Linked DNA regions of Homo sapiens: region 2 is linked to region 1. Evidence: promoter capture Hi-C in 16 types of primary human blood cells and fetal thymus (Javierre and others, 2016). All regions are on one chromosome and are shown on one strand. The core of a region is centred on a gene start or on the middle of the fragment in contact, and the rest is flanking DNA. Distances in the headings are between cores, read along the strand shown. Region 1 holds the start of UBE2E1 (ubiquitin conjugating enzyme E2 E1). Region 2 has its middle 3.8 kb from the start of RAB5A.

Region 1 (6,809 bases), core at 2,710-5,209:
ATTCTACTATCAAAAAGCGTTTCATTTCTGAGACATTCATACTCCCGCTGTTTGACTCATGACTGTACATTAGACTCAAAGTTTGGAAAATTGGTTTCCTGATTCTTTACCTGAATCTTTTCAAATAACTGTATTTTAAGACCTACACACGTAGGCAAAAATTTCCTCCCCGGAGCACAACGCATATAAAAATACATATTGACTTCAGTCCTCCTTGCCAACCCAACTCCCACTATAAAATAGTCACAAAAAAAGGTAGTTGTTTCTTTAATACCTAAGAAGCGTTAATACCAAAAAGCTTTATCAACTTCATCTTGACAGACAGCATTTGCATTTCCAAAAAACTGGCAAGAGATTTGCAGGAGTAACTCATACCTATTTCCAGAGAGTCATTCTTGTTCAGACCACTTGCAATGGGGGCTTTCCTCTACCCACGGTTTAGAAACCACTTTCCAACATGCAGTTAGCAGCCTGTTAGTCTGCCAATTCAGGCTTCTTTTTCACTCCTACTCCTGGTGAATGTGCCCCTTCCAATTCTATGGGCAACACCTACCTTCCAAATCAATATACTTCACAGAACAGCCTCTATAGGGTCCCACTAACATCAATTTTCCCCATTCTCTTTCCTGGATACACTGTCCCTCTCCATTTTTTTACCTTTTTCTATTAACTTTAGGTCTGCTTTAACACTAATAGCTACTCTTTCAGCAAGATTATCAAGGAGCTAAATTCATTGCAAAAACAAAACAAAAGCCCTGATGTTAATTTATAGGTAAAATTACTATTTGTAGCTTCCCACCTTTCATTTTTCTACACCTATCATCTCTTTTCCAGAACTTCCAAATAAATTCTTAACTTGTTTAAAATAAACAAAGTATGTCTAGTGAAAAAAATCCCCCTCTCTGTAATTCACTCACAACAAAAGCAGAGTATTTTCTATTTGATACCTGTGTCTTTACCCCCAAATATATTCATGTACACCAGGGATATCTAGCAAAATATAAAAATGCAAATTACCAAAAGCAAGTATCCTGGCTTGAGCACGTGAGGCCAAAACGTGAATGAGGATCAGAGAGCCTAGAGGATTGAGGTGGGGCGCAGTATTAAGGAAGGGCCCGTCCCAAGTGGGCAGAGTAGATGTCAGGTTCCAGGAAAACCGCACAGGGCTAATCAGTGAGGGTCAGTCAGGCCTCCTGAGAAGCTGTACAATCAAACCAAACCTATAAAAATGAGAACAATCTTGCAGAGGCACCTTGCCACTTAAGACCTCCACACTATTTTTTAAAAGTCACTCCTTCATCAGCCCATGGTTAGGTCACCAAAACACTGCCAAGTTTTCAAATTACAAGTCAGGGAGAATGACAGAACAAACTCTCAAACCCTGACTTCCAGGCTCACTACTCAGTGGAGAGATCTAAAGTCTCATGTTCTACTTTATTTTAAAAATTTTTAAGAAGGGTATCCCTATCCCATCATTTGGAGTTCTTACTATCTTCCTGGTTTGCCACCTTTTTAACAACTGCCTAACTCTGAGAGCAGAAGGATTTATGAAAGGGTGTCTCAGAGCTCCTAGGAATCCACTAAAGATGATTTTGAGGGTCATGGCGATCAGAGGATATTACTGAAGGATGGCAGGGGTAAAAAGTAGCTACCTCCAGAGGCTTAAGAGGAAAAGAATAAAGAAAAAGGGTGACCGCTTAGGATGGCAGGGATAAAAAGTAGCTACCTTCAGGGCCTTAAGAGGAAAAGAATAAAGTAAAAGGGAGACCACTTAAATTGAAAAAATAAGGCAAAGTAACATTTTCACAGCATGAGGACAGCAAATAGCATGAAAAAAAGACAAGTCTCCCTGAAATTGGTAAACTGAAGTTTTTAAAGAGAACCACAAAAATAACCTAGAATAACCATTTTATAGTCACTTACTGATTCATTCATTTGCCTCAACTCTCAGAAAAATCTCTTTAAATTCCACCAGAAAACATCTGTCTTCACCTACTAAATTTTGTACCTGCTAATATGAGTTTCTTATTCCTTATGCAATTTGTGAAGAAAGCTCTATTTAGAAAAGATCATCCATGCAACAGGTGAGGAGAAGGTAAAATGGTCACAGAATTCATTTTGATGCAGTTCTCTGGGCTGGTATTAGTAATTAAGAAATGGGATCATGGCCTTGGGGAAGGTCACAGATTAACCATTAGTAGGACAAGAAATCTGAAATCAGATTTGGGGGTCACTAATAAAAGTAACGAGGAATCTTACAAACTTCAGCAAGAAATGCGAGAGGCAAGCCGCAACAGCTGCATGTGAGCAATGATTTAAAAACAGAAGCAGCAATAGAGAAAATAATTAGGGCTTCCAAGGCCCTTCTTTCATTTTTAAGAACACATAAACCATGAGGAGCGTTTAAGCTATCCTCATTGGGAGGCAGACCAAATGCAGCAAGAGGCAGTTCGGAAATAGGAAGCCTGTGGAAAAAAAAAAGAGCACAGTACCTCTTGGCGCTGGTGGAGAGGAGTTTGGAGTTTTTGCTCATGCTGACTTTACTCTCCTTCTTCTTGGGGGTGTTTGTTTCTTTCTCGGTTTGCTGGTTGGAAGACGAAGATGAGGAGGAGCTGGTGCTGGCCCTCGAATCGTCATCCGACATAGCGAACCCCCCACCCCACCCCGCAAACAGCCCCTGCAGGGGGAGAGAAACAAAACAGAAACACACAAACCATGCAGCCAGTGTAAATAAGGAACTCGGGTGCTGTCAGGAGGGCATTGACCAGGGGCGCACGCGGCCGCCCACCGCCCTCCACTCGCTTTTCAAAGTCTGCAGGCCCATTAAGGCTTTTGCAAATCGGACGCGGCTTGTTTATTTTTGGCCCCAAGTGGGGAACGCTGTGGGAAAACGGTCTGGAGCTAGGAGAGAGGCCCCTCCCTCGCCCCCCGGGGCTCTCCGCTGGGCAGGGAGGGAGTAGCCCGGGAGGCGAAGGAGGGCAGGGCGGGGGGCGCGGGGCGCCACGGCGGGGCAGGGAGGGAAGGTCCCGGCGGCCGGCCGGCCTCGGGGCTGTTTTTGTCCGCTTTCCGGGGGTCGTGAGGGGCCGGTGGCCCGGGTGAGACTGTGGGGCCACGAGCGGAGTTTGGCGAGGTCGGGAAGAGAGGAGGGGCGGGAAGGAGTAAGAGAGGAAGCCGAAACAGGGGGACGGAGGCGGGGAGCGGGTGCCCGGGTGGGGGAAGGGAGAGGCCGGCGGGGGGCAGGGGCGACGAGGCCCGAGGCCCCCCCGCGCCGCGCCCCGACGCCCCTCCCGGCCTGCCTGCCTCTGGCCGCCCTGCTCACAGCTATGCGGCCGGGCGGGGGTCCGGAGCACACGCCCGATCGCCACTCCTGTAGGGGGATAGGGGCTGCGGCGGGGAATGGGGGGGTCGGCCTCCGCAGCGAAGACATAACAATGAGCCCTTCCGCCCCGGAGGGGTTAATCCCCGCGAACCCCCGCCCCTGGGGAAAACGGGGCTCCCCCAACTCCCTCCCACCCCCGCTCCCGGGCCCCTCGGTGGCCAGTGGGGGGCTCTTGGGGCAGCGCTGACAGTTCGAGCCACAATGACCCCCGTCCTCAATGCGGGCGGCCCCCGCACCCCACGCGGCCCGGGGTCCCTGCCCATCCCCCGCGGGCGGGCCCCGGACCCCTGGGGCTCCCCAGCCCCTCTCCGCTCCCCCCCCGCGCCGGCCCCGTGCCCTGCGGCCCGGCGGCCCCGGCGGCGCGAGTCGGGGGAGGCGGCGAGGGGTGTCCCCGAGGCCCGGCGGCGCGGCCGGGGGGCGGCGGGCCGCTGGGGGGATCCCCGTACCTCTCTTTGTGTCTGGCTCCTCCGTGCCGCCGCGGCGGCTGCTGCTGCGGCTGCGGCTGGGCCTGGCCACTCGTGTCTCTCTCTCGCTGGGAGAGAAGCGGAAGTGCAGCAACAGCAACTATTAAACAGGCAATGGCTTCCCCCAGCCACACACGCTCGCACACACACCACTCCTCCGCCGCCGCCTCCTCCTCCTCCTCCTCCTCGCCCTCACCCCTCCCCCACCCGGCCCGGTCCCACCCACCCGCGCTCCCCTCCCCCTGCAACACCTCCTGGGGGTGCGCGAGGAAGACCCAGGAGACCCCAGGAAACCCTGTCCCCCACAGACACCCCCACCCCAGCGCCTCCTCCGGACGCCCGGGAAGGGGGCGAGGGTTGTGAATTTTCTCTTAAGTGGTTTGGGAACCTGGATTCTGGGCGGGAGAGGGGAAGCCGATGGAGATGGGGGGCGCTGGGAGTGATTGGAACTAGATGGAATAGGGGGGTCACGAGAGAAAGTTCTTTCCAATGAGGGCTTTTGGAAAGGAGAGGAGTAGGGAGGTGGCAAATTGGTGAAAACGTTGGTAATCTGGTGGTGGCAAAGACTTTAGAGAATGCAGCGGGTACTCCACCTAAAAAGCGATTAAAGAGAAAAAAAAAATCACACAACAAGGGTTTTCTTTGGACTGACACTTGCTTCTCCTTCTAGCAATTTACCTGCTAGGAGCAGAGGTCAGTTTAGGTATGCCTGTGAGAAAATCCCAAACTAGGAATTTTCTGCTCAGGTCACGCGAGGCACGTGCAGTTTTACAATATTAGATTCTTCCACTCACTTTTTATAGAAAGTGATGTGGTTTTTTATAAGAGTGATACAAAGGTTTTGGTGACAGGTAAAACCAACGTGTAACGGGCTTGCGAATGTGAGACATCACTGGGAATAAGCTATATACTACTGAATTAGACTGGATTTAGAATTTTTTGTGTCATTTTACATTAGATGTAAGGTTTGGTTTTTGGAAATTGGATGCAAAGTTCTGGGGATCGCAGAATCCCCAGATCGCTAAATTGACCAAATTATTTTTAAAATATTAAGCCATTTTTCTCTTTCTTTAGCTACCTATAAATGCTATGCAAATAATATTTTTGAAATGATCAGCAATTCTTCTGAATTGTTCCTTATTTAGCATTTTTGCCAATTTTTTTTTAATATTAAGCCATCAAATTACGATTCAGTTTCTCACCTTTTGTCATTTCAGTTGAAGGGAACTAAAGAGATGTGTGCCATTCAAATACAACAGTGCCACACATACAAGGTCTTGTACATTAAGGAGACAGCCTCAGATTTCCATAGGTCACTCTAAATTATCTCATTCAAACTGCCATCATTTTCCACAGCAACAGTGGCTTCAGTTACCACAGGACAACACAAGATATACAGCCCATGGCATATCCAGTAACCAGGAAAACAAGCATTCTCACGACCCAGCCGAACTCCTTCTAACCATCAACCTGAAATTCCAGCTTTATCAAGACTCATAAAGTAATTGTGCATGCTTCTTGCTCAATCCCTACCAGGAAACCTGTATCTACCAGGAGTTGTCATAGAATAAGAAGTTCAAAAGCTGGAAGAAATCTTCAGGGTCATAATTTCAGCCTCCTGCTTCCAGACAGAACTATTTCTCCACCACTGAAATGCATATAGATTTTGAAAAAATTTCCAGACATAACCTTTCTTAAGTGTTTGGTTTCAGGAGTCCTGGTAGAGTATATAAAAATGATGACATTCTTTGCTATATATTTGAAAAAATTTTTTAAACTTCTGAAAAACTGATTGTATTCTTTTTGTTCTGATGAAAAGATGTAAATTCAGAAGAAAACAATAAGAAGATGAAATAAACTCAGGATGAGGAAAATAATCTAAAAATAGTTATTAAAATTGAAATTTCCTCCTATGAAAATTTGGATTTCTGATACTTAAAAATATATGTCTACATTATGAATACAACCAGTAAAAAAATCATGTGTTATAAAGACAAGAACTAGCAGAGATCACAGGAAAATAAAAGGTTTGATTTGCTGAAGTGATCAGGACAGTAGGTGAATTTTTTCTTTAATATTGGTTTGCATAAATTGCCTACCAGCTATAATAAGAATTCTTTTGTAACAGAACATGATATTTTGTGTTGTGTTACTGATGCTTGGGTTGGACTGATTCCTTGTGAAAGAAATCATGAAATCTAACAGCTCCTCCTATAAGGAAAAGTGATTTCCCAACCACCTGTCTGGAAGGTTTCTTGCCCTCTTTTGTGTACTGTTCCCCCTAATCTCTAATTCCAGCTAGCTTAAGTTAGTGCTTTATCGTTTTGGAATGACCTGATGACAGGGAATAAAAACTTCAAAATGTTTAGAAAAGAATCCAGTCCTCTCAAAAGACTAATCTTTATGTCGAATTATTTTTAAGACCTGTATGCAGCTGTCTTAGGGGAAAAAAAATTCATACACAACTTTCTATCTCTCCTTCTTATTAACTACAAGGCCTAAAAAGCTAAATTGACCTCCCTGAGCCTCAGTTCCCTCATCCATAAAGGGCAGAAATACCTGTGCTCTACTGACTGGCAAGGTCAAATATGTATCTGTAAGTAAGGTGATTTATTAGCTGTTACGCAAAGTAAATTATTAATAATTCCACTCTAGTGGAATTTTCTTAGTTCATGGGTTTGGGGTTATTTGTTGCTTTTATGTTTTTGTTTTTCGTCACCAGGGCAGAAAAGAGGACATGGGGTTTTTATAACTTAGAATTGATGAAAATATAAGAAACCTTCCAGGAGAAACATATACTCAAGGAATCATAGTATTTTATGCCTAGAAGGGGCCTAAGATATCTTCTAGTTCACACTCTTCATGTTACAGATAAAGAAATCAAAGCAAAGAAAGTTATGTTGGCCGGTATGTTGGCCGGGCGTGGTGGCTCATGCCTGTAATCCCAGCACTTTGAGAGGCCAAAG
Region 2 (6,809 bases), core at 1,956-4,455, 3.9 Mb after region 1:
CCCTGGGGTTGGGTAGGTCGGTAAAGGCTGCTAAATCGCATTTACCCCAAGGAGGAAGAAAGGACCCTCCCTATCCCAAAAGCCGCCTTTAGGCGCCTGACAATAAGAAGTCGCTTCTGTTAAGAGTTTACGTGGTTTTGGTAGGGGGCGGGGAAGGCCAAATCCTAAAATAGTGTCTGCCTTTTATTCAGAATTTCCCTTCGCTCTTTACTGTACTAAACGCTTTACAGGAATTATCCCATTGAATTCTTACACTCGAGTCTTTCATTCTGAAACTAACTTGTTAATCGTCTGTTCCCTACATTCGAATTTTAGCTCCCCTTGGTGGTCCTCACCGCTGTAAATCTATGTCTAGCCCAGTGCCTGGCAGCCAAGTCTTCAGTTCTAGTTGTAGATGTTTTATAGGTAAAGAATTTGAGACACAAGAGATTGAGTAACTTGTCCGAGATCACGGCTGTGTGGTGCAGAAGCTGGATTCTGATCTGCGGCGGGTTGGCTCCAGAACGTGAGTTGTTGAACACAATTCTGGTGAAAGACAACCCAAGATGTTCGTTACCCTCCACGGGGGACCTACTGAAGATGTGCTGCTTTAGTTGAATCCCACACCACATTCAGTCTCTGGCGAGGCTTCAGCCACCACCCCCTCCCCAGCCTCCGCCAAAAAAATTGTTTTGATAATTTAGTGGAAGAATATTAAATTGATTTTCCTTCAGAATAAAGGCTACTTTTCAGTTTGCAGTTTACAATGTATAGCTCTGTTGTAAGGGCGAGAATATTGTCTTTGAAGTGTACCGGGTTAAGGTATCTTATGGGCGTACAGTCGGCGGCATTGTGCAATTAAGATGATTTGAACTTTGAACAGCCCGTCTTTCAGATCAACTACCTAGTTGCCAGAAGAACGTAATGTGTCATACGTAAATGATACCTGTGGCATTTTATTCTCAAGGAGTTGTTCAATATGAACTATTAATCATGGTAATAGCTCTGGGACAATCCCAGGAGGAGTCAGGAAATAGGATATGTGACATCAGTTTTGTCATGTCAACAGTATGCCCAAAACGAAACCTATTCCACTCCAAACCTGCTTCTGCTTAGAGACTGGCATTAACATCCTCCCAGTCACCCAGACTTGGAACTGCAGAATCAGCTTCACCTCTTTCTTCTCCTCACAAACCATTGTCCATTCTATCAACAAATTATCTAATCCCCAAATTTGAAGTCTAATCCCAACACCTGGTCCATGGTAGTGTTTATATAAACTGAAATTAATGCATACTGCTGTTCTTTCTGTCCATTCTTTACATTTTAGCCACTCTACTAAAAAATGTTCAATGCTATGTCATTACTTGACAGTCTAAAGTTCTTTAACTCTAGTCCCAACCCAAGTTTCTTTCATTCTATTTCTATAGAATTCCTCTCCCCATACTCTTTATTTGTTCCCTGATCACACGTATCTGGTCTGTGTTCCCTGAATATTGCCTGTGTGTTGCCATCTTGGTATCTGATCACTTTATTTTCTCCACATGGAACACTATCATTGCCCATAACTGCTGGCTCCGTCTTAGCCAGGACACCAGTTCCTTTGGACCGCATCTGCAGATACTTCTACTGGATTCAATTATTATTTTTTCTGTAATTTCACAATACTTTGCCTTACTCTGTATAATGGCTGTCTTAAAATCTGCCTTATTTTAATAGCTAATGAGCACCTGGACTTTTCTCCTTAGCCTTTCATTGAATTATAAGGTTTTTAAGGGCTGTGACCATCAGTTATTCATCATTTCAGTTCTTCACAGAAGACCCTTGACTGCTATAATAGGGACCCCCAAAGTATTGGTGAACTTAATTACATTTAGAATCACGAACATTAAGAAGACCTCACAATGAAAAACATTTGATGCTGAAATTTATAAATTGCAAAAAACTCCCTATTTCATCGTTCCAGTATGTTGCTTCTTCACTCGTTCCTGTTTAGTGATTTTGTCTTCACCTCCTTCATGAATACTTTTCACAATATTTTACAGTTTAGTCATAATGTTTGCCTGGAAGAGTGCTGCCCTGGTGGCTGGCATTTCTAAAGATCCGGTAGTAGTTTTAGAGAAATTGAAATGACACAGTAAAGCTCTGTTGTTTTATTGCCACTTGCAATATGCCTATGTTTTCTTTTTCATAGCCCCAGATAACTGAGGAGGACTGATAATTGTATATATTTTAGTGTCAAATGTGGAGTCCTACCAGTTGATAGAACTTGTTAAGGAAGGTACAAAATGGATAAATAATCATGAAGACTTAAACACTGTCTTTGATGCTTATACTGCCCTCAAATCTCTAAATACTCAATAACAAATTCCCAGTGGCAGGTGTCTCTCTACCATTCACAGGATCCCATAACCTTTTCCTTCTCTTCCAGGAAATCTGTCCTCCCTTGTGTAGCTAAAGAATGAATCTTTGCATAGATGATAATGAATGGTTACATTTACTTTTAACTGGAACTGTCTGGAGACAATTCAAAATTTTTCCTGGAGACAAACCAACGGTAACTCTAACATTGGCGTAGTAGCAAGTCAGTGAATAAAAGGCTGTGAAAACTTAAGCTAGTCATGTTTCAAAAGCTTGTGTCTTTGGAGGGCATCATTCAGGCTTCAGCTCAAATGTCATCTACCTAAGGGACTTCTAAGCCCACTAATTCTAAATGCTTTGTTACATATCGAAGTAGTCTGTTGTCTTCATAACAGCACTGTTTGATATGATATTATGCATTGTCTTCATAACACTTAGCACCATTTGATATGATATTACGCATCGTTCCACTTAATGGTTATCTATCCCTACTAGAATATAAGCTCCATGAGATAGGGGTTGGGTTATACAGTCAGTCCATCTGCTTGTGATTGGTTCTTGGACACTCCCTTATTCCCCCACCATATGGGTACCAAAATTTGCAGATGCTCTAGTCTCATGTAAAATGGTGTAGTATTTGCATGTAGGCTATTCTGTATGCTTTAAATCATCTTCAGATTACTTACAATAAGTAATACAATGTAAATGATATGTAAATAGTTGTATTTTTTTAATTTGTATTATTTTGTGTTTTTTTCATTTTTTAACTCAAATACTTTCGATGGAATACAGAGGGCTAACTGTATTCCCAACACTGACACAAAATAGGGAGGGACTCAATACCTGTTTGTAGAATGAATGAATGAATTGAATGAGCCCTTACCTGGATTTACATACTGCAAAGTCATTTGAAGAATTTATGGGGATTTATTGAATGCTGTGGCCACTTTTGGGGTTCCTATGTCTTTCTTCAGAATCCAATCCGGCCTACATGCAAACAACCCTGTTTAAAGGACCTGCAGTTGGTATTCATCTTGGCACCATCTACTCTTGTGTGGGTGTTTTCCAGCATGTAAAAATAGAGGTAATTGCCAATGATCAGGGAAATTGAATCACTCCAAGCTATGTCACCTTTACTGATACTGAACAATTGCTCAGTGATGCCACAAAGAATCAAGTTGCAATGAACCCCATGAACACAGTTTTTGATGCCAAATCTGATTGCTGATTGGACACAGACTTGATTATGCTGTTGTCCAGTCTGATATGAAGCATTGGCCCTTCATGGTAGTGAATAATGTTGGCAGGCCCAAGGTCCAAGTAGAATACAAGGGAGAGATAAAAAAAACTTCTGTCCAGAAAGGTGTCCTCTAGGGCCATGGACTGGTACTGGACTGTGGCCTGTTAGGAACTGGCTGCCCAGCAGGAGGTGAGTGGCAGCAAGTCAGTGAAGCTTCATCTGTATTTACAGCTGCTCCCCATCATTCACATTACCACCTGAGCTCCCCCTCCTGTCAGATCAGTGGCAGCATTAGATTCTCATAGGAGTGTGAACTCTATTGTGAATTGCACACACAAGGGATCTAGCACTTCTTATGACAATCTAATGCCTGATGATCTGTCACTCTCTTCCATCACCTCCAGATGGGACCGTCTAGTGGCAGGAAAACAAGTTCAGGGCTCCTACTGATTGTACATTATGGTGAGTTATATAATTATTTCATTATATATTACAATGTAATAATAATATAAAGTGCACAATAAATGTAATGTGCTTGAATTGTCCTAAAACTATCTTCCCCCGATCCTACCCCCTGCAACTTGGTCTGTGGAAAAATTGTCTTCCATGAAACTGGTCCCTGGTGCCAAAAAGGTTGGGGACAGCTGCTCTGTTATTCTGACAAAGATGAAGGAAATGGCAGAAGCCTACCTTGGAAAGAGTGTTACCAATGCTGTGGTCACAATATCAGCTTGGTTTAATGATTCTCAGCATCAAAGCTACCAAAGATGCTGGAACTATTGCTTATCTCAATGTACTGAGAATTATCAATGAGCTAACTGCTGCTTCTATTGCTTATGCCTTAGGCAAAAGGTTGGAGCTCAATGAAATGTGCTGATCTTTGACCTTAGAAGTGGTACTTTTAAATTTTTATTTATTTATTTTCTTGAGATGGATTCTCGCTCTGTCACCCAGGCTGGAGTGGTGCGATCTCGGCTCACTGCAATCTCTGCCTCCCAGGTTCAAGTGATTCTCCTGCCTCAGCCTCCTGAGTAGTTAGGATTACAGGTGCCCACCACCACGCCTGGGTAATTTTTTTTGTATTTTTAGTAGAGACGTGGTTTCACCATGTTGGCCAGGCTGGTCTCAAACACCTGACTTCAGGTGATCTGCCCCCCCTCAGCCTCCCAAAGTGCTGGGATTACAGGTGTGAGCCACTGTTCCTGGCCTTTTTTTTTTTTTTTTGATGGAGTCTCACTCTTGTTGCTCATGCTGGAGTGCAGTGGCGCAATCTTGGCTCACTGCAACCTCTGCCTCCCGGGTTCAAGCGATTCTTGTGCCTCAGCCTCCCGAGTAGCTGGGATTACAGGCATGCACCACCATGCCCAGCTAATTTTCGTATTTTTAGTAGAGACGGGGTTTTTCCATGTTGGCCAGGCTGGTCTTGAACTCTTGACCTCAGGTGATCCGCCTGCCTCAGCCTCCCAAAGTGCTAGGATTACAGGCGTGAGCCATTGCGCTTGACCTGGAAGTGGCACTTTTAATGTGTCAGTCCTCACTGTTGAGGATGGAATCTTTGAGGTGAAATCTACAGCAGGAGACACCCACTTAGGTGGAAAACACTGACAACCAAGTGGTCCACCATTTTATTGCTGAGTTCAAGTACAAGCATACAAAGGACATCAGTGAGAATAAGAGAGCTGTCTGACATCCCCATACTGCTTGTGAACATGCTAAGTACACTCTTTCTTGAGCAGCCAGGCTAGTATTGAGATCCATTTTCTCTATGAATGAATCAATGTCTATACCTCTTACACATGCCCTATTTGAAGAACTGAATGCTGACCTGTTCTGTGACACCTGGACCCTATAGAGAAAGCCCTTCAAGACACCAAACTAGACAAGTCACAGATTCATGATATTTTCCTGGATGGTGGTTCTACTTTTATCCCCAGGATTCAGAAGCTTCTCCAAGACTTTTTCAATGGAAAAGAACTGAATAAGAGCATCAGCCCTAATGAAGCTGTTGCTTATGGTGCAGCTGTCCAAGCAGCCATTCTGTCTGGCAACAAATCTGAAAATGCTCAAGATTTGTTGCTCTTGTATGTCATTCTTCCTTCCCATGGTATTGAAACCGATGGTGTAGTCATGACTGTTCTCATTAAGCATAATACTACCATTCCTTCCAAGCAGACAGACCTTCACTACCTACTCTGACAGGCAGCCTGATGTGCTTATTCAGGTTTATGAAGGTGAGCATGTCATGACCAAGGATAGCAACCTGCTTGGCAAGTTTCAACTCACAGGCATACCTTTGGCACTCCAAGGTGTTCCTCACATTGAAGTCACATTTGATATTGATGCCAATGGCATCTTCAGTGTCTCTGCTGTGCACAAGAGTACAGGAAAAAGAACAAGATTACTGTCACTAATGACAAGGGCCATTTTAGCAAGAAAGACATTAAATGTGTGGTCCAGGAGGCTGAATAGTACAAAGCTGAAGATGAGAAGCAGAGACAGGTGTCATCAAAGAATTCCCTTGAATCCTATGAATTCAACATGGAAGCAACTGTTGAAGATGAGAAACTTCAAGGCAAGATTCACGATGAAGACAAACAGAAGATTCTTGTCAGGCGTAATGAAATTATTAACTGGATAGATAAGAATCAGGCTGTTGAGAAGGAAGAATTTGAACATCAGCAGAAAGAGCTGGAGAGAGTCTGCAATCCCATCATTACAAAGCTCTAGCAGAGTGCAGGAGGAATGCCTAGGGGATTCACTGTTGGTGGATCTCCTCCCTCTGATGGTGCTTTCTCAGGGCCCAACACTGAATAAGCCAGCCCAAGTACAGATGTAGCATTGTTCCACACACTTAAAACACTGAAGGACCCAAATATGTAGCAAATTCTGTGGCAGTTTTTTTTCTTTTTTGATCAGTCAATGTAGTTTAATTTTTCCCAGTCAAAATTTGCCTAAAAAGGCCTGTAATCTCATAAAAAAAGAAGTACATAGAAAGTAAGCCTTTAAAGGAATTGGACAGATCATTCCAAACTGGGGCAGGAAATTGAGTAGTCTTCATGAGGAAGGTGGTGTTTGAGAGATGTCGGAAGATGGCTGAGTCAATAGGGGCAGTGGGCCTTAAACTCCTGTAGAGGAGATACAATCAAATCTATAACACTAAGTTGTTGGAGGGTGCCAGAGTGTCATCCATGCCAGTTCAATATCAATTGTTCGGTTTTACAGTGGTTTA

What was found. Contacts are between HindIII fragments. The CHiCAGO score rates a contact against its expected background, and 5 or more counts as called.
Region 2: a contact is called between a fragment that was not itself captured here and the fragment with the promoter of UBE2E1 in region 1, in 1 of 17 cell types (non-activated CD4 T cells). The highest score is 6.3, in non-activated CD4 T cells.

What each region holds. Positions count from the first base shown.
Region 1 is chr3:23,803,105-23,809,913 of GRCh38, reverse strand. It overlaps UBE2E1 (ubiquitin conjugating enzyme E2 E1), which reads right to left and starts at 3,959. Exons shown (of 6, transcript NM_003341.5): 1 at 3,826-3,959; 2 at 2,493-2,677. The coding sequence starts at 2,644. UBE2E1-AS1 (UBE2E1 antisense RNA 1) reads left to right here and starts at 3,009. Exons shown (of 2, transcript NR_046652.1): 1 at 3,009-3,095; 2 at 5,200-5,890. RefSeq lists an enhancer at 2,444-2,533 and silencers at 2,834-3,013, 3,214-3,513, 3,704-3,833, 3,914-4,023. The HindIII fragment of the contact is 12,732 bases long and covers 301-6,809 here.
Region 2 is chr3:19,939,851-19,946,659 of GRCh38, reverse strand. It overlaps a transcript of EFHB not described here and the pseudogene HSPA8P18. Among named protein-coding and RNA genes, the nearest start is that of RAB5A, 3.8 kb to the left of the region's middle. RefSeq lists an enhancer at 81-682. The HindIII fragment of the contact is 1,181 bases long and covers 2,615-3,795 here.